Linked DNA regions of Homo sapiens: regions 1, 2, 3, 4 and 5 are each linked to region 6. Evidence: promoter capture Hi-C in 16 types of primary human blood cells and fetal thymus (Javierre and others, 2016). All regions are on one chromosome and are shown on one strand. Each heading gives the region's core, a stretch centred on a gene start or on the middle of the fragment in contact. The rest is flanking DNA. Distances are from core to core; before and after follow the strand shown. Region 1 overlaps SLC9A9 (solute carrier family 9 member A9). Region 2 has its middle 77 kb from the start of CHST2. Region 3 overlaps LOC105374138 (a long non-coding RNA gene). Region 4 overlaps SLC9A9 (solute carrier family 9 member A9). Region 5 has its middle 25 kb from the start of CHST2. Region 6 holds the start of SLC9A9-AS1 (SLC9A9 antisense RNA 1).

Region 1 (2,706 bases), core at 169-2,668, 230 kb before region 6:
AATAAAAAGACTAAAATTTAAATTTTTGGACAAATTTGTCCAAATTGTCTTTTAGAAAATTTGTATCCCCTTGCACTCCCACCAGCAATCTGAAAGCAAGCTCATTCACTCACGTCTTCACCACCCCAAATCTTATTAATCACTGCTAATTTGATAATCAAGTTCCATTTTCTTCCGGTTTACATTTATTATATTTTTATGAAGGAGAAGCTTTTTTAATTACAGGTCATTGGCTGTTTGTATTTCTTCTTTGGTGAACTACCAGTTTATGCCCTTTGTTACTTTTTTGTTGTTGTTAACTGTTTTCGTGTTGAGATGCTTATCTTTGTCACATTGTAGTTCAGTTACTCTTTATCTATGGAGAAAATTGGCTAGGACCAATGATGCATTTCTATAATCCCAGCACTTTGGGAGGCCAAGCAGGGAGGATTGCTTGGGCCCAAGAGTTCCAGACCAGACTGGACAACATAGTGAGACCCTGTCTCTAAAAAAAAAAAAGTATCTGGTCATGGTGGCACACACTGTGGCCCTAGCTACCAGGGAGGCTGAGGCAGGAGGATTGCTTGAGCCCAGGAGTTCAAGACTGCAATGAGCTATGACATGACTGCATTCTATTCTGGGCAACAAAGAGATACCCTGTCTCCAAAAAAAAAAAAAAAAGAAAAAAACAATAAAAGAAAATTAACCTTTTGACTGTCATATAGGCCATAAATATTCTCCAATTTGTGCTTGTACCTTTTAACTATGTTCTGTTTTGTTCGTTTGGGTAAGGGAAAGGGGTTGGCATAGGCATTTTCAAGTTTTATGTGGTTAATTGTATTGCCTCCTTAGAAAGCCCAAGTGAATGATATGTCCACAAACTTAGCAGCCTAAAAAATAATAAAAAAGAAAAAATATATAGAAAACCCAAGTGTTTCTTAATGATAGTGTATAATTTCTTTTAAAAGTTGTTTGATTTTGTTTTTGCATCAGAAACCAACTGGAATTTGTTTTGATATGAGGTGTGGGGTATAGTAGCGATTTGATTTTCTTCCCAGATGATAAGTCACCTGTCCTAACACCCATCAACTTTTGCCTATTTAAAATGTCTATGTATGTGCACATACATGTATGTGTATGTGTATCTGTATGTTCTGGGCTTTCCATTGTTCCACCGAATGTTTGATATTCACTGTGTCAATTATTTCAGCTTCATGGTTTATTTTAATATCTAGTAGGTCAGTCTTTCACTCCTCTTCCCCATATTCAAAAGTTCCTTTGCTATACCTGTGTATTTATTATTCCTGATGGACTTGGAAATAACAGGTTCCAAACAGAAAATAATTTTGGAATTATAATTGGGGTACATTAAATTTTTAGATTAATTTGAAGAGAAATGGCATTTTTATAACATCAAGTCTTCCCACCCAGGAATATGTTATGACTCTCCATTTATTTGAGTCTTATTTTACGGCTCTCAGTAAATTTTTACAGTTGTCTTCACATTAGACCTACAAATTTCTTGTTAAGTATCTTTTCAGCAGCTACTTTATATTTTGGGGTGCTACAGTAAATGGGAACTTCTTTATAGTTTCTAACTGGTTATTGTTTGTATATGTGCATCTAGATTGCACTGCACTATTTGATTTATTCTCTGTAGCTCTAAAGTACAAAATTAGAGCTGATGGAGAATTAGGATTAATGGGCAGAAGTTAGACTGTCAAGTTCAGGAGGGCTTTGTCAGCACCAAAAGAATGTCTGAAGCATTGTGGGCACAAAATAAATATCGTTCGAGCAGTGGAATGAATAATTTTCACTCACAAAAGAAAAAAGTTTCAAAACCTGAATAACAGATCACTTTATAAGGTAGTAAGTGTTCTGTGCCCAATAATATTCCTACAGATTTTACACATCCTCTGGTCCAAACATTTCACAGCAGATCCATACGTCAAGTAAATGATATCTCATAAATTGCATTAATCTGTAACCTTATTTTCCCAATTATTAAGTTAAAAAATGAAGACATATAGGCATGAAAGGAACAGCTCTGTCTAGAAGAATGTGGTGGACATGTGTTGGTTCTGGCTGCCCCAACACATTCTCACTTCCACTGGTAATAGCATCCTAATGTTTCTTAGGAAACTACCCCCAACTCCAATGGATAACATCTTCTAATCAACGTGTCCCACCCTCCCCTGACAAAGAGAATTAGGACATCTGAAGGTAGGACAACTAGACACTCTTCCCCTGGTATGTAAAACTTTAGGAGGGAGAGAGGAGGCTGTATAACTGCTGGCACCTCCTCAATAGCAGAGCCCTATTGAGACCCTCTATTTATTTATTCCTGCCACCAGATCCCTGGAGCAGCCATGATGCCTCCTTTCTAAGAGCTATCACACTTCCTTCCAATAAATTCCTTTCTGATTATGCTAGCCAGAGTCTGTTTTTATTACTTGCAAACAAAGAAATCTAAATGGTACAAAGGAAGGAATAGTCCATGAGGTATTTCAACAAAAGAAATTGTATAACTTTGTGACAGATCAGAAGGGAAGACAGTCTCAAAGACGGCACAGCCTCTAGGCTAGGATACTTGGGACCATCTTATGCCAGGTGCATACTGATAAACGAACAAAAAGAATCAAGCTTTTAAAGACAGTTTGCAGTGTTCATTATCCTTTCCAATTCAGCTTCTTACCAGATTCATCATGAACACTTCAGTGTAAGCAG
Region 2 (2,798 bases), core at 65-2,564, 150 kb after region 6:
GGGCCACATTGTAAGAAGAACAATTGTCTGGGGCCACACATAAAATACAGTAATACTAATTATAGCTGATGAGCTAAAAAAAATTGCAAAAAAAAATCTCATAATGTTTTAAGAAAGTTTGTGAATTTGTGATGGGCTGCATTCAAAGCCCCCATGGGCTGCAGGTTAGACAAACTTGCTCTAGGGTATTTAATGTATGCAATCTTTACAATCAGCCTCATTAACCCATGGGAGAACTATCGTCTATAAAACAGACTCCCCTTCACATCTTCTCCTCAAGCCACATGTTGACTTTCCATGATGTCTTTTCCCTAAAGTCTTCCCATGATACTCACTTTATTCTAATTTCACTTAGATAAAATGTAAAACTGGCCCCCAAATACATATAACCCAGAGACTTTAGTGAAATCATATAAGCCAAAAGTAGATGTGACTCTATTAGGGAATAAGCTAATGGTGCATAGAAAACTGAATCTCAGAGTGCAAAGAAAATAAGGCTCAAGCAGAAGTTGGAACCATTTTTCCTGGAGGAGATGCAGAGAACCTCCAAGCTCAGAGTGAAAGGTTCAGGGAGCAAAAATGTATCTGGGGGCTGTAATCAGAGTGATTAATTAAAGGGCAGAATACAAAACAGCCAAACCAGAGTTCCTACATCTCTCACTTCCACGTTTATTAGTGAACATGTCAGCCACGTGATTGGCCTCCACATAAAGCCAGAGCTCTGTCCTATAAAAATGTTGAGTATTTCTCTTGTAAGTCTTAGTCTGCTTGTGCTGCTATAAAAACTGGGTAATTTATAAATTGAGACTCAGACTGAGGAATTTATAAAGAACAGATGTATTTCTCCCAGCTCTGGAGGATGGGAAGTCCAAGAGCAAAGAGGCAAATTTGATGTTTAACTGAGGATCCTGTCTCTGCCTCCAAAATGGTGTCTTGAATGCTGTGGTCTCCAGAGGGGAGGAATGCTGTGTCCTCACACGGCAGAAGGCAGAAGGGCAGAAAGGGACAAACTCCCTCCCTCAAGCCCTTTTATAAAGGCACCGACTCCCCTTCACCAGAGGGGAGCCCTCATGGCCTAATCACCTATTAAAGGCCACAACTCCTTGATATTGCTGCATTTAGGATTAAATTTCAGCATGAATTTTGGAGGGGACAAAAATACTGACATCACAGCATCTTGAGAATACTGACTTTTTCACATAAGTAGTGGTTCTGCACAGTAACGTCCATCCTATTTTGGCATTTTTTAAGAAGGGAAGTATGCTGAGATTTGCTGTGAAAATGGATCAACTCAGCTACAGAAGAAAACTTTAGAACTGCCTTAGTGGTCCATATTAATCAGTCTAATCCTTTTTTTACAAAAAGGAACAAGCCGCCAAGGTTTAACAAACATTTAAGGGAAATCAACAGCTTGTAAGTGAATCTCTAAGGCAAAAAGAATGACTGATTACCAAGGAGGCATGTACAGACTGAAAAGAGACTACAACCATCAAAACAGAACCAAACACTTCAACACAGGACAGAGAACAAATACAATGTTTTGCAAATTAAAAAATAACTGTCAAAATAAAAACCATAGGTACAAAAATATAATTAGAATGAATAAGATCTAGTATTTGATAGCACAACAGGGTGACTACAGTCAACAATAATTTATTATACATTTTAAAATAACTAAAAGAATATAATTGGATTGTTGTAACACAAAGAAGGGATAAATTATTGACATGATAGATACTCCATTTACCCTGATGTGATTATTACACATTGTATGTCTATGTCAAAATATCTCATGTACCGCATAAATATATCACCCATGTACCCACAAACATATATAAATATGTCACCATAAATATATCATCTATGTACCCACAAAAATTAAAAATAAAAAAACTATATAAGAGCTAGAAGACAAAGTCAAAGAAAGATTACAGATAAAAAATAGGAAGAAGAAGTTTTTTTAAAGGAAGAGAAAAACTTAAATGATATGATAGATTGTGTAAAGCCATTATTGCATTGCTATAAAGAAATACCTGAGACTGCATAATTTATAAAGAAAACAGATTTAATTGGCTCACAAATCTGCAGGCTGTAACAAATGGTTCCTGCCTTTGCTCAGCTTCTGGGGAAGCCTCAGGAGCTTTTACTCATGGCTGAAGGCAAAGTGGAAGCAGGCATGTCACGTGGTGAAAGCAGGAACAAGAGAAAGTGGGAGAGGTGCCACATACTTTAAACAACCAGATCTTGTGAGAATTTACTCACTACTGGGACAACAGCACCTAGCCACGAGGGATCCGCCTCCATGACCCAAACACCTCCCATCAGGCCCCACCTCCAACATTGGGGAATTACAATTCAACATGAGATTTGGGTGGGGACAAATATCCGAACTGTATCATAGCTCTAACTTCAATCCAGGAATTCTAATACCAACCCAACAGGAGTTCCAAAGATGAGGAAGAAAAGGAGTTGGAAGAAAGGAAATAAAACAACCATAGGAAAAAAAAACTCCTAGAGCAGTAGCAAGCCCATCTTGGATGCTGCAATTACTGAACACAAAGGCCTACACCTAAATATATTCTCATGAGATTTTGAAATATCAACAATAAACAGAAGAAGTAAAACTTCCAAAGGGGCATATATATATATATATGCCATATATATATATACTCAATAAATATTTATGGAGTACCTACTATGTGCCCAGCCTTGTCTAGGCTCTGGGAATTAACAAGATACATATCTCTTTTGCATATATATGTGTATGCATGTGTGCTTGTATGTGTATTAATATATAT
Region 3 (2,700 bases), core at 122-2,621, 250 kb after region 6:
ACACCACCGCCAAAAATGTAAAAAATCTGGCAGTGCCAACTGTTAGTGAGAATAAGAATTCTTATACACTGCTGGTGAAAATCATAAATTGTTGCTACTTTGGAAAAAATGGTTTTGGCATTTCCTAGCAAACGTGAGCATTTTGATACCCTAAAACCCAGCAATTCTGGGTCATTCACTATTCCTTATTTACTGGGCATATTCATTAGAGAATCTGTGGACATGCACACCAGAATGCTTAGGCCAGAACCTTCAAAACTACACTGTTTATAAAACCCAAAGAGCAAAAACAAATACAAATGATTTATAATTATATAGTCAAATGATGGAATATAAAATGGAAAAGAATGAACTAGAGCAGCAATCTCCAACCTTTTTGGCACCAGGGACTGGTTTCATGGAAGACAATTTTTCCACAGATGAGGACAAGGTTGGTTTCAAGATGAAACTGTCCCATCTCAGATCCCTCGAATGCACAGCTCACAATAGGGTTGGCGCTCCTATGAGAATCTAATGCTGCCGCTGACCTGACAGGAGGCAGAGCTCAGGCAGTGCTGCTTGCTCGCCCACTGCTCACCTCCTGCTGTCCAGCCCAGTTCCTAACAGGCCTCAGACCAGTACCAGTTTGCAGCCCAGAGGCTGGGAACCCCTGAACTAGAGTATAAACAAATACATGAATAAATTTTGCTATTACAGTGTTGACTAAAAGGAGCAAAACATAGAGTATTATCTCCCTCTGCCCAGAGAAACCAGCCTCCTCCTCTCCGCTCAGGGAAAAGTACCCTGTAAAGCTTCCCAGTGCCCAGTGACTCTGTCATTCTCTACCCTGCCAAAACACAAATTAATTGCCTGTGCTTCTCAAAGGGTCATAGAATTTCAGAACAAGAAGGAACCATAAGGAAAAGAGACTGAAAGATGTAAAGAGGGTATTTGAAATGACAAAACTACAAAACTAAAAAAAAAAAAAAAAAAAAAAGGTCAATTTCTGCAGGGGAAATACCCAAACACCCCACACCTTGCCCTTTTCATTCCATCTCATTAATTAACTTCTCCTGACTGGAGTTTCGCAAACTCTATTATAAAAGAAAATGTTAATGACCACCCACAGTAAGAAGTTGATTTTATGTCACAACACTGTACATACACACACAAAATTTCACAAAATAATATTTACATATTACGTAAGATGCACTCTGATATTTTCCATTCTACTCTATTTTTAATGCTATTCTTAAGCCCAGAATTATTTTCATGGAGTATTAATGGATTATAACCTATATTTTGAAAAACAGTCTGCTCCACAATGCCTCTTTGGCCAGATGGCAAGGAGCTCTGCCTTCAATCCTGGCTCAGCCACTTAGGAGTTCTGAGGCCTTGGGAAAATTACTTAGCCTGTCGGAGTCTGTGTTCTCATCTATAATATGGGATCATTATGTTTACTAGGTTATCATAAGGGTTTAAGAAATGTATATGTAAGGAATTAGCACAGTGCCTGACACACAACGAGTGGTCAATAACCAGTGGCTTTGCTATCAGTTTATCTATTTTTGAATTATATTCTTCAACTGCATGACTTCTCTAGAATGCTATGGCTCACAGAAAGCTGCTGTGAGGGACAGTGTCCTGTCACCTCCCAGATTCCTGCCTTGGGGACACAAACTCAGAATTCAGCTGATAGATTCCAGTGGAGATTAGGGGATGAGGAAGCGTGGGGAGAAGGGAGGAAGAGAGGCAGTTTTCTATCTTCCAAAGCCTGTGAGCACAGACCATTTCATCCTCCTAAGCACAGATTGAGAGGCTGCCAGAGCTACAAAGAGTCTTTAAGGTAATCAAAACAAAATTCCTAATGTGAGATCTGAAGGGAACATTTACTAGCTTGCATCAGGAAGAATGGCTTAGAACAGTGGCACCCAGTTTGAGAAGGGGCAATTTTGTTTGGAGGTAAGCTTTTAAAAACCACAAACATACACACACTCACACAGGCATGACCATGCATGCACACACACACACACACACACACACTCCTCTGAGTTGGCTGATAAGAGTAATCATATAGTGCAACAGGCCCATTTTACAGATAAGGAACCTAAAGTCCATAGAATGACTAGCTGAAGGTCATAAGATCTGGGCCAGGAACACAGTTCTCTTCTTAGCCAATGCCTTTCTCCCTCTGCAGCTGCCAGCTGCATACTTCCAAAGCATGCCCTAGACACCCACTGTGCCTCATGCCCCTGCATACAGTGGGGTTACATACTCGTTTTGGAAAACTATGGACACTTAACCTTCTCTTCCTATTTTTTTTTACAAGAACCAAAATTGTTCTGTTCATTTGTTTGTTTTTTGTTTTTTATTATTTTTGGTGGGGGTAGGGTCTCACTCTGTCACCCAGGCTGGGGTGTGGTGGTGCAATCATGCTTCACTGTAGCCTCAAACTCCTGGGCTCAAGCGATCCTCCCACCTTAGCCTCCTGAATAGCTGGGACCACAGGTGTGCACCACCAAACCTGAGTAATTTTTTAAATTTTTTGTAGAAATGAGGTCTCACTCTGTTGCCCACACTGGTCTTGAACTCCTGGCCTCAAGCGATCCTCCTGCCTCAATCTCCCAAAGTGCTGGGACTACAGGTGTGAACCACCACACAAGTTTTTTGTTTTTTAAATCTGTGCAGAAAGTAACATTGATTCCATGTGATGCTAGAAGT
Region 4 (2,700 bases), core at 167-2,666, 200 kb before region 6:
GGACCCAGGGAGAAATAAAGATAAGTAAGACATCCATGTTTCTCCTTGAAAATATTTTATGTAAATTTTTTATCTGACAAAGCTGTAGTTGGACTATAACTTCTCAGTTAAATCTGTCCTACTCTCTCACCCACAAATCTGTTTATCATAGCATATAATTGCAGTTGGAAATTTTAAGTCATGAAATCAAAGAAGTTCAGAGCTAAGGGAAACTATAAACTTTTGAACCCAGAATTTTATTGGAGGAAACTGAAACCCAGGGAAATTCAATGACTTCAAGGGCTTGGACCAGTTTTCCAACCCAGGGTCAACCTGGACATGGGTCATTGCTCAAGGGATATGCACTGTCAATTAAAAATACACAGCACCTGCCTCTAAAAACATTTGGTATATTTGTTATATATTGCTGTGTAACAAATTACTCCCAAATTTAGCAGCTTTAAACAACAAACTTGTATTATTATTTCGTATAGTTTGTGAAGTCCTGGAATCCAGGAGTATCAGCTTTGCTGGGTGGCTTTGGCTCAGGGTCTCGTGAGGTTGCTGACAAATTGTTGATCAGGGCTTCCGTGTCTCAAGGTTTGGCTGGGGCTAGAGAATTCTCTCCAAGAGCCTCATTTACGTGGCTGTTGGCAGAAGACCTCAGTTCTTCCACCTGTGTCCTCCATCGGGCTGCTTGGGTGTCCTCGTGATGTGAAAGCTTACTTTGCCCAGAGCAAGTGAAACCAGAGAGAGCAAAAAGACAGAAGCAATGGTTCTGATTAACTAGTCTCTAAAGTTGTTTACTGTCATTTCTGCCATATTCTATTTGTTAGAATCGATTCCGTAAAATTGGACCATGAGCAATGGGAGGGGATTAATTCATTTACATTTTGAAGTGGTGGTGGGGGAAGGGGTGTCAAATAATTTGTGGACATTTTAAAGTACCAGGAGACCCAATGCCATTTTTGGAAGAAATTGTTTGATAGTGCTTTTAATTTCGTATATGGTTGAATATTTAGGTTTTCTGCTTCTTCATTCAATTTTAGCCATATCCATTTTCTTAGTAAACCATCTATCCTACCCAGGTTTTAAAAAATTTAGTATCAACAATTGTTGAACACTATAATGTGTCAGGCACTGAACATATATGTTTCATATAAGTTATTCTTATTAATGTTCACATAAAATCTACAAGGTGAAGACTATTATTAATCAGATTTTATAGTCTTAGAGAAGTTAAGGCCACACAAAGAATAGAGTAGTGCATCACAACTCGTTGTTTTTAATGTCCTTTGTATGTATTTGAGTATAGACCTTTTCTTACAGAAAATTGCATGCATGTATTTTCCCCTTTTATTAAATTTATGAAACTTTACACGTGATCCTGATCATTTTCAATTTATTTATGCATTCTATTGTTTTATCCTTTTATCACTAATCCATTCTTCTTCCTCTCCTTGGGCTTTCTGTTTTTCTTCCCTGTCCCCTTAACAGAGGATGATGAAGGGAACTCCGTTCCTGCAGATCACCACTCTCCTCCATTTTTTTATTTCCCTGCTTTACTACAACCCTGAGAGGGCCTTAATAGGTAGAGCCAAGAATAGTCTTTTCTTTTTTCACCAAAATATTGGTGCTGTCTCATCATCTATCCTGTTCACCTATTTATCTTATGACAGATATTATTCTGTTTTGCCTCTGCTGGCTTGCTTTCTTCAGGATTCATCAGCATTCTACATAACTAAGAGTACTTGAACAATGTTATTGTTGTTTTATTCTGCTTCTTTATCACCATCATAAAAGGCTCTGTATCAGAGTCACCTCCCAAGACTATCTCTACCCAATAGGCAATGTCTTGGTGGCACATACTAATTTACCTTTAAATGTCTTACTAACAAGTCTCCAAAATCTTCCCTTAATTTTTCTTTCTCATCCCCACCAAGCCCTAAGAAAGTATACTTACCTCATTTAGCCTTTTCTAAATATTAATTTTCTTTATTATATTTTCCCCCAAATCATGGTTTTGTATTCTTTCTCACTATGTAGAGCCCCAACTCCTTAAAAAGATAGTGCTCACTTGCACACTCTCTCTCTCTCTCTCTCTCTTAATTTTTCACTTTTAGAAAACAAAAACTACCATCATCAAAGCTTGGATATCAACATATAAATTTCATGTCCTTCTATGTATGGATCTGATTCAATGCATAATGGAAAATTTTATATGAATGGAATTTAGGAGATCAGCTGGCCTGGTACCTGCTTTGATAACACTCAAGACAGATGGTCGCCCACTATTACCTTAAAATTTCTAAGGATGGCAATGGCATAACCCCCTTTAATAGCCCATTACAGTTTTATCATCCTGTTTGATAGGTGTAAGTATGAAGGGCTTCAGTCTCATAATGGCATTTTAGAATGATAAATGGAAATTACTGTAATTTTTCTACTTATTTCAATTAAATTTTATTGATGCAATGCAGAAAACATCAAGGCTGAATATGTGTGCCTGAGCATGTGTTTGTTAAAGAATGTTGCCAAATTTAAGGATGCCATTTCCTTAATAATCTTGAAAGATGCAGCAAATGTATTTAATAAAACGTTAAGTCTTTGTGCAATTCCTTCAGAAAAGAAATTGAATTGCTTCTGGAGGCACAGCTCAAAAATCCAAAGAATCCTATCAGTGGAGATATGATATATAACTCCTAATAAAGTACCCGAGAG
Region 5 (2,723 bases), core at 199-2,698, 200 kb after region 6:
TGGTACCATCATGGCTCACTGCAGCTGCCATCTCCTAGGCTTAAGCAATCCTCTCACCTCAGCCTCCAGGGTAACTGGGACTACAGGCACACACCTCCAGGCACATGCCACCATGCCTGGCTAATTTTTTTTTTTTTTTTTTGCGGGGGGCGGGGGTGGTATGGGGGTCTCACTATGTTGCCCAGGTTGGTCTCAAACTCCTGGCCTCAAGCAATTCTCCCCTTTTGGACTCTCCAAGTGCTGGGATTATAGACATGAGCCACCTCAACCAGCCTAGACTTGTTTCTTCTAGGTAAAGTTGATATTAATTGACACAGGCATTGCAGACTTGTTCTAAGACAGATTTGTTATTCCTATACTGACCCTGGGAATGCTAGTGACCAAAACGGGCAAGGTCCCTGCTCTAAAGGGGCTCCCATTCTAGCCACATGTGTCAAGTAAACAAATGAGCCAACAAAATATCAGATAATGGTAAGTACAGTGAAGAAAATAAAACTGGGGTTGGAAAAGACAGTACCCATGTAGTCAGAGAAGGCTCTCAGAGGAGAGGATCTTTAAGCTGAGACATGTGTGGCAAAAGGGAAGCAGCCATGCAGCAATCTCAGTAAAAAGCATTCTAGGCAGAGGGCACTGCAAGTGCAAAGGCCCTGAGGTGAGCCTGTGCCATGTTCCTTTCCTTCACCACTAAAGTAGGTCCATGGCACAACAGATCTTCTCATGGCAGCATTTCCCCAACAGATGGTCTAGTACTTCAGGGCAGAACATGGGCACGTTTCTCCTACAGAAAATGGCCACTTTACTGAAGAAATGGACGTCCTGCTAGGGGATCATATGGACACAGAATCCCAAGACAGGAGGGAAATATAAGTGCTAGTTTCTAGGTGCAAGAACTGATCTACAGAACCCCCTTTTGAATTCTCCAGGACAATTACAAGCAGCAACCACACATAGAATCAAAGTAGAAGCATATGTGTGGGGGGGGGCAGTAAGGAGTTCTGAGAAGGTGTCTGGCAAACATCAGCTCATTTGTTTTTAAGAAATACTGAGGAATCATACACCCTATTGGCAAGTAGGCTGATCTGGGTCAGTCACAAGTTTTCCCCTGCCCCATACCTCTTATGCTGGCAACAGTACCTTAATCTACAAAGGGAAATTGGAGCTGAGGACTACCAGTTTGGGCAGCAGGAGCCAATAAGAAGATGAGTCTCCATGGGCTGGGATGAGGGAAGTTGACTTCTACATCAGGGGCTTGGGTGAAGACATGATGCTCCCAACTGGCTTCCAAATGGTATCATGTTATGTCTTGAGAGGCTAGAGAGGAAGACTTGAATGGGTCTTATTTTTTTCGATTATAAGGACAGAACTACATAAGAAGCATGGTTCTGTTGAAAGAGTCATTCAAAATGCACAAGAAGTAACAGAGCTATCTGTGTGTCTTTTCCAAGCCTGCTGTAGATGTCCTTCCCTTTGGAAGGACAGTGCCATTGTAAAGTCTGGTATACATCCAATTCAGATGTATCTCTTGAACAGTAACTACTTTTATTATAACAACCCAAGTTTGATCATTTCACAAACTGCTCACCTTTGAGGAACTAGCTGGAGGCAACAGCAACACCAAAGAAAGTGCATTGTTATGATAATATATAGAATTCCTCCTAACATCTCTCTTGAAATCTTGCATTTTGCCTTCTTTATATTTGCACCAACTACATCAAACACAATGTAGAAAAGTCTTTGACATTCTAGATAAGAAGAATTAGGTGTTTTGATTTATATGATTACTCTAACTGCATTAGCCCTGGGGAAGTTGTTGACTAAATCAACATGATTGAATCATGTTCCAAGGGTTTCTCACCGTACTTCTGTTTGATGTATAGAGTGATTTTGATGAGGAATCCATAGAAAATGAAATAGAGACATCCTTCACCAAAATGGAACAGATTAGCTTTTGCACTGGAAGATTTGGCCTTAGAGTTCATAAATTACCTGTTGACTATGCATATAACTCCATGATATCCCTCAGGGAAATGGATGTTTCAGCGTATCAGCTCTGCTGAGATTTGATATGATTCAACCATCTTGGCAGATGTATTACCAACTGGGAAACTGAATTTTTAACTAAAGTTGTATGTACACAACAGCACAACGGTTCAAAAAATGAAAAAGTGTAGTTAATTAAGATCTAACAATGCCAAACAGCTAGCCAAGCTGGTTTTTGCTCCACTAAACTGACCAGTGGCTTAAGAAAATGGACTCAGCTAACCAGTTGATAAGGAACTGAATAGATACATTCACACCAAAACATACAAGTATATAATCAGAGTTATATTATCCATAATCTGTTCTCTTTTCAGCTGTGGCAGCAATAAATGTCGGTACTCACAAGTAAATAGATGAATTGTTAGAACAGTAAATATTCAATAAATGTTTGCTAAAACACAGTAAGTAAAAATATATATATATACTGAAATTTCTATTAGAATAGTAGTTTATGTCTTGATACTTTACAGGCCATAAAAATAAGTTGATACTAAAGAGATAACTGAGAAGAAAGAATGAAAAATGTAAAACAGCGACACCTAACAAAACCCTCTTGTATTGAGATAATTGTTCTGGTTGAATGACCAGATACAGCATCCAGATGTTAATCTCTAAATACCATTCTCCAATAAAAAGGAATTTGGCTCCTTGGAATAATGGCTGATTCCAAGACAAAGAAAGGA
Region 6 (2,797 bases), core at 80-2,579:
CATTTTGAGGGGACAAAATAGGGACTCCTGCAGTTTTCTCTCTGTAGTATTTTCTTGCTGAATCCAAGACCACATTAGGAAACCATGCCGTTGATTTTTTCGACTACTGCTTGTGGCAGTTCTTGCCTAGCTGTTGAAAGTTACTTTTTTTCCCCTCTTTACATCTTGGTAGAACATCTTATTCTGAAAATTGACTATCTCTCATCCTCCATTCCCACGCTTTGCCTAGAAAATGAAAAGATGTTTAAAAGAATGCCCTCCTGTTCTTGCCACTACAAAAAAATCAAAACATTTCCTGTCATACACTCACACACAATTAGTCTCCTTAACAATAAAGAGGAAAAGAAGTGGGAAAAAAATATCCATGACCTCTGTTGGTATTAAGTCTATAGGATACACTCAGCAGAGTCAAACCATCTAGCACAATCAAAACCATTATCTCCTCCTCTGGGTGTCTAAACTGCCCATATCAGTCATTTCAGTGAATAAAGAAATAAACAAACACTAGAAAATAGGATAGTTGTAGATTTGAGAAACAGTAAAAGTGTGGTGCTATGTATAGCAATGATATCACTTGTATTATTACAGTCATTTTTATATTACTAGCATTTGGGGATTATATCATCTAGCATTTGAGGTTGTTTTGACAATTTGTTCACATATAGATAAGAAAGAAGGAATGATCTTTTCAAAGAGAGATGCATGGTTAAAAGCGTGGCGCGTGTATATTTGCATGCACATGCACCTGCACCTGAGGTTGAACATGCACCAGATACACCATACCCCACCTGAGTGATTAAATAGATCACTCAATAGGAATTTTTCAGGTCATTTTCAGTTTTCTCAGTCTTTTGAAATAAGGTGATATTTTATGGTGCCCACAGTGGTTTGTGTCTACAAGCATTGCCTAATTTTAAAACCTTAAGTTAATCTTGACAAATCTGGCTATTGGAAGCTGTTTGGCCTTGAAGGTTATTTTATTTGTGAGTCCTGCTCTAGTTGCTACATAGATGGTGGCATTGGGTGGGGTGTTTAAAATCTAAGATAGTCCAATAAATAAACTGAAATACATCAGCAATAAGGTTTATAAGTGACCTCATGAGGAATCATCTAGCTTCTTAGATCAGGGTCTGCTGGTCATAAGGGTGGATCACTTGAGGTCAGCAGTTCAAGATCAGCCTGGCCAATATGGCAAAACCCTGTCTCTACTAAAAATACAAAAATTAGCTCGGTATGGTAGCACATGCCTTGTAATCCTAGCTACTTAGAAGGCTGAGGTAGGAGAATCACCTGAATCCAGGAAGCAGAGGTTGTAGTGAGCCAAGATGGTGCCACTGCACTCCAGCCTGGGTGACAGAGTTAGACACTGTCTCAAAAAAAAATAAGAAGCTCTAATGTTTGTTTCATTGAGAGATCCCTTCCTAAGGGACCCAACAAGCAGCTTCAATGATGGTCAGTAAAGTATGAACCTTATAACCATAGTTTCCACGTTTCCACCTTTGCCTCCTACTGAGGCGGCAGCAGAGCTGGGTCCTGACTGTGATGCGGTATTCCCATAACACAGCTCCACATCCAGAGGTAGTTTCACCCGGAATCAATGAAACTCAGCTTTCAGGGCTCTTCATCTGCATGGGTCCTTTGTAAGGGACCAGTGTTGATATTCAAAAGTGTGCATTCTTTTTATTAAGAATAGCCTCCAAAATTAGGTAACCTTCAGACTTCATGAAATCTGGATCTATCCCCGTCCATGTGAGTAAACACTACAGGGAAAATATGATAAATTAACGGTCTTATCATAATATTAAGTATTACAATAAATTATATGATTGTAAAAAATTTCAGTCCCTAGCACCTATATAACACTGTGTTCTGTATTTGCATATCGGAGTCATTTTGGTAAACAAAATTTTAATTTATTTGAACAGGGTTCGGGAAATCCTCAGGAAGTTTAACTTGCAATTTGGTATCTGAAGCTAATGTTATTCCTCTCCACATTTCTCCTCAAACATTTGGCACAGCTTTTCCTACCGTGGCAAGCAACTTGTCCCATTCTGAAAAGTGTGTTAAATTCACAGATACCCAATAATGATTATTGCAGGGTGTTCTCCAACACGTTTCATCCCTTGGTCTAAATTTACATTGTATGACTATGACCTGGGATGACTCTCTTGCCCTCCCTTGTAACTCAATACAGTTATGAATGGATGATTATTTTTATAAAATCCTACTCTGGAGTTCCCAAATTGACAGGCATTGGAGGCTCCCAAACCGACCCCATCTCAGGTATATATTCTCAAGACCAAAAGTTTATGAAAGCTAAGCCCCCTTAAGCCCCCACTACTCCAAAGGAACTGCAAAACAGCACATGAACAGTGAAAAAGATCCTAAAGAAATTCACCTCCCGATCACACCAAATTAATGCTATCCTGAGATACATCCAGCGAAAGGAATTCATCATATTCCACATAAGTGCCAAAAGACATTTGGACAGACTTTCAGCCTAAAGGATAGTGAGAGGGATAGTCTTAAAAATTTTAAAGATTTCTTTAGAACTTTCTTAGAATTAAGTGTCCTATTCAGCTTAATTGTTCTGCTACCAGCAAAAGTGATAAAGTTCAGGTGATCCTAAATGCAGAAAATATGTGGAAGTGAATAAAGCCTTCTGCACTAATGACTAGCAAATTTCAATAGATTTCCAATCTCTCTTTTTCACATTTCTTGTACCAACTCATTTATATTGTCATTCTAGAAAGAGCACATAAAAGGGTGTCTGGAGATAGATTTCTGGATGTTAAGA

Evidence for each region. Contacts are between HindIII fragments. The CHiCAGO score rates a contact against its expected background, and 5 or more counts as called.
Region 1: a fragment that was not itself captured here is called in contact with the fragment with the promoter of SLC9A9-AS1 in region 6 in 7 of 17 cell types (M2 macrophages, M1 macrophages, M0 macrophages and 4 more); the score reaches 7.5 in M2 macrophages.
Region 2: a fragment that was not itself captured here is called in contact with the fragment with the promoter of SLC9A9-AS1 in region 6 in 1 of 17 cell types (erythroblasts); the score reaches 5.1 in erythroblasts.
Region 3: a fragment that was not itself captured here is called in contact with the fragment with the promoter of SLC9A9-AS1 in region 6 in 4 of 17 cell types (M2 macrophages, M0 macrophages, naive B cells and 1 more); the score reaches 8.6 in M2 macrophages.
Region 4: a fragment that was not itself captured here is called in contact with the fragment with the promoter of SLC9A9-AS1 in region 6 in 2 of 17 cell types (M2 macrophages and naive B cells); the score reaches 6.1 in M2 macrophages.
Region 5: a fragment that was not itself captured here is called in contact with the fragment with the promoter of SLC9A9-AS1 in region 6 in 7 of 17 cell types (M2 macrophages, M0 macrophages, fetal thymus and 4 more); the score reaches 9.7 in M2 macrophages.

Annotation. Positions count from the first base shown.
Region 1 is chr3:143,567,769-143,570,474 of GRCh38, reverse strand. All of the region lies in intron 8 of SLC9A9 (solute carrier family 9 member A9), which reads left to right. All of the region lies in intron 2 of LOC124906294 (a long non-coding RNA gene), which reads right to left. Among named protein-coding and RNA genes, the nearest start is that of SLC9A9-AS1, 230 kb to the right of the region's middle. The HindIII fragment of the contact is 2,412 bases long and covers 213-2,624 here.
Region 2 is chr3:143,195,319-143,198,116 of GRCh38, reverse strand. No RefSeq gene overlaps it. Among named protein-coding and RNA genes, the nearest start is that of CHST2, 77 kb to the right of the region's middle. The HindIII fragment of the contact is 3,920 bases long and covers 1-2,798 here.
Region 3 is chr3:143,091,758-143,094,457 of GRCh38, reverse strand. The region is part of intron 2 of LOC105374138 (a long non-coding RNA gene); the gene reads right to left. Among named protein-coding and RNA genes, the nearest start is that of CHST2, 27 kb to the left of the region's middle. The HindIII fragment of the contact is 1,155 bases long and covers 794-1,948 here.
Region 4 is chr3:143,539,262-143,541,961 of GRCh38, reverse strand. All of the region lies in intron 9 of SLC9A9 (solute carrier family 9 member A9), which reads left to right. Among named protein-coding and RNA genes, the nearest start is that of SLC9A9-AS1, 200 kb to the right of the region's middle. The HindIII fragment of the contact is 1,427 bases long and covers 703-2,129 here.
Region 5 is chr3:143,142,973-143,145,695 of GRCh38, reverse strand. No RefSeq gene overlaps it. Among named protein-coding and RNA genes, the nearest start is that of CHST2, 25 kb to the right of the region's middle. RefSeq lists an enhancer at 2,597-2,723. The HindIII fragment of the contact is 9,831 bases long and covers 1-2,723 here.
Region 6 is chr3:143,340,778-143,343,574 of GRCh38, reverse strand. SLC9A9-AS1 (SLC9A9 antisense RNA 1) reads right to left here and starts at 1,329. Exons shown (of 4, transcript NR_048544.1): 1 at 1,291-1,329; 2 at 1-225. All of the region lies in intron 14 of SLC9A9 (solute carrier family 9 member A9), which reads left to right. The HindIII fragment of the contact is 6,948 bases long and covers 1-2,797 here.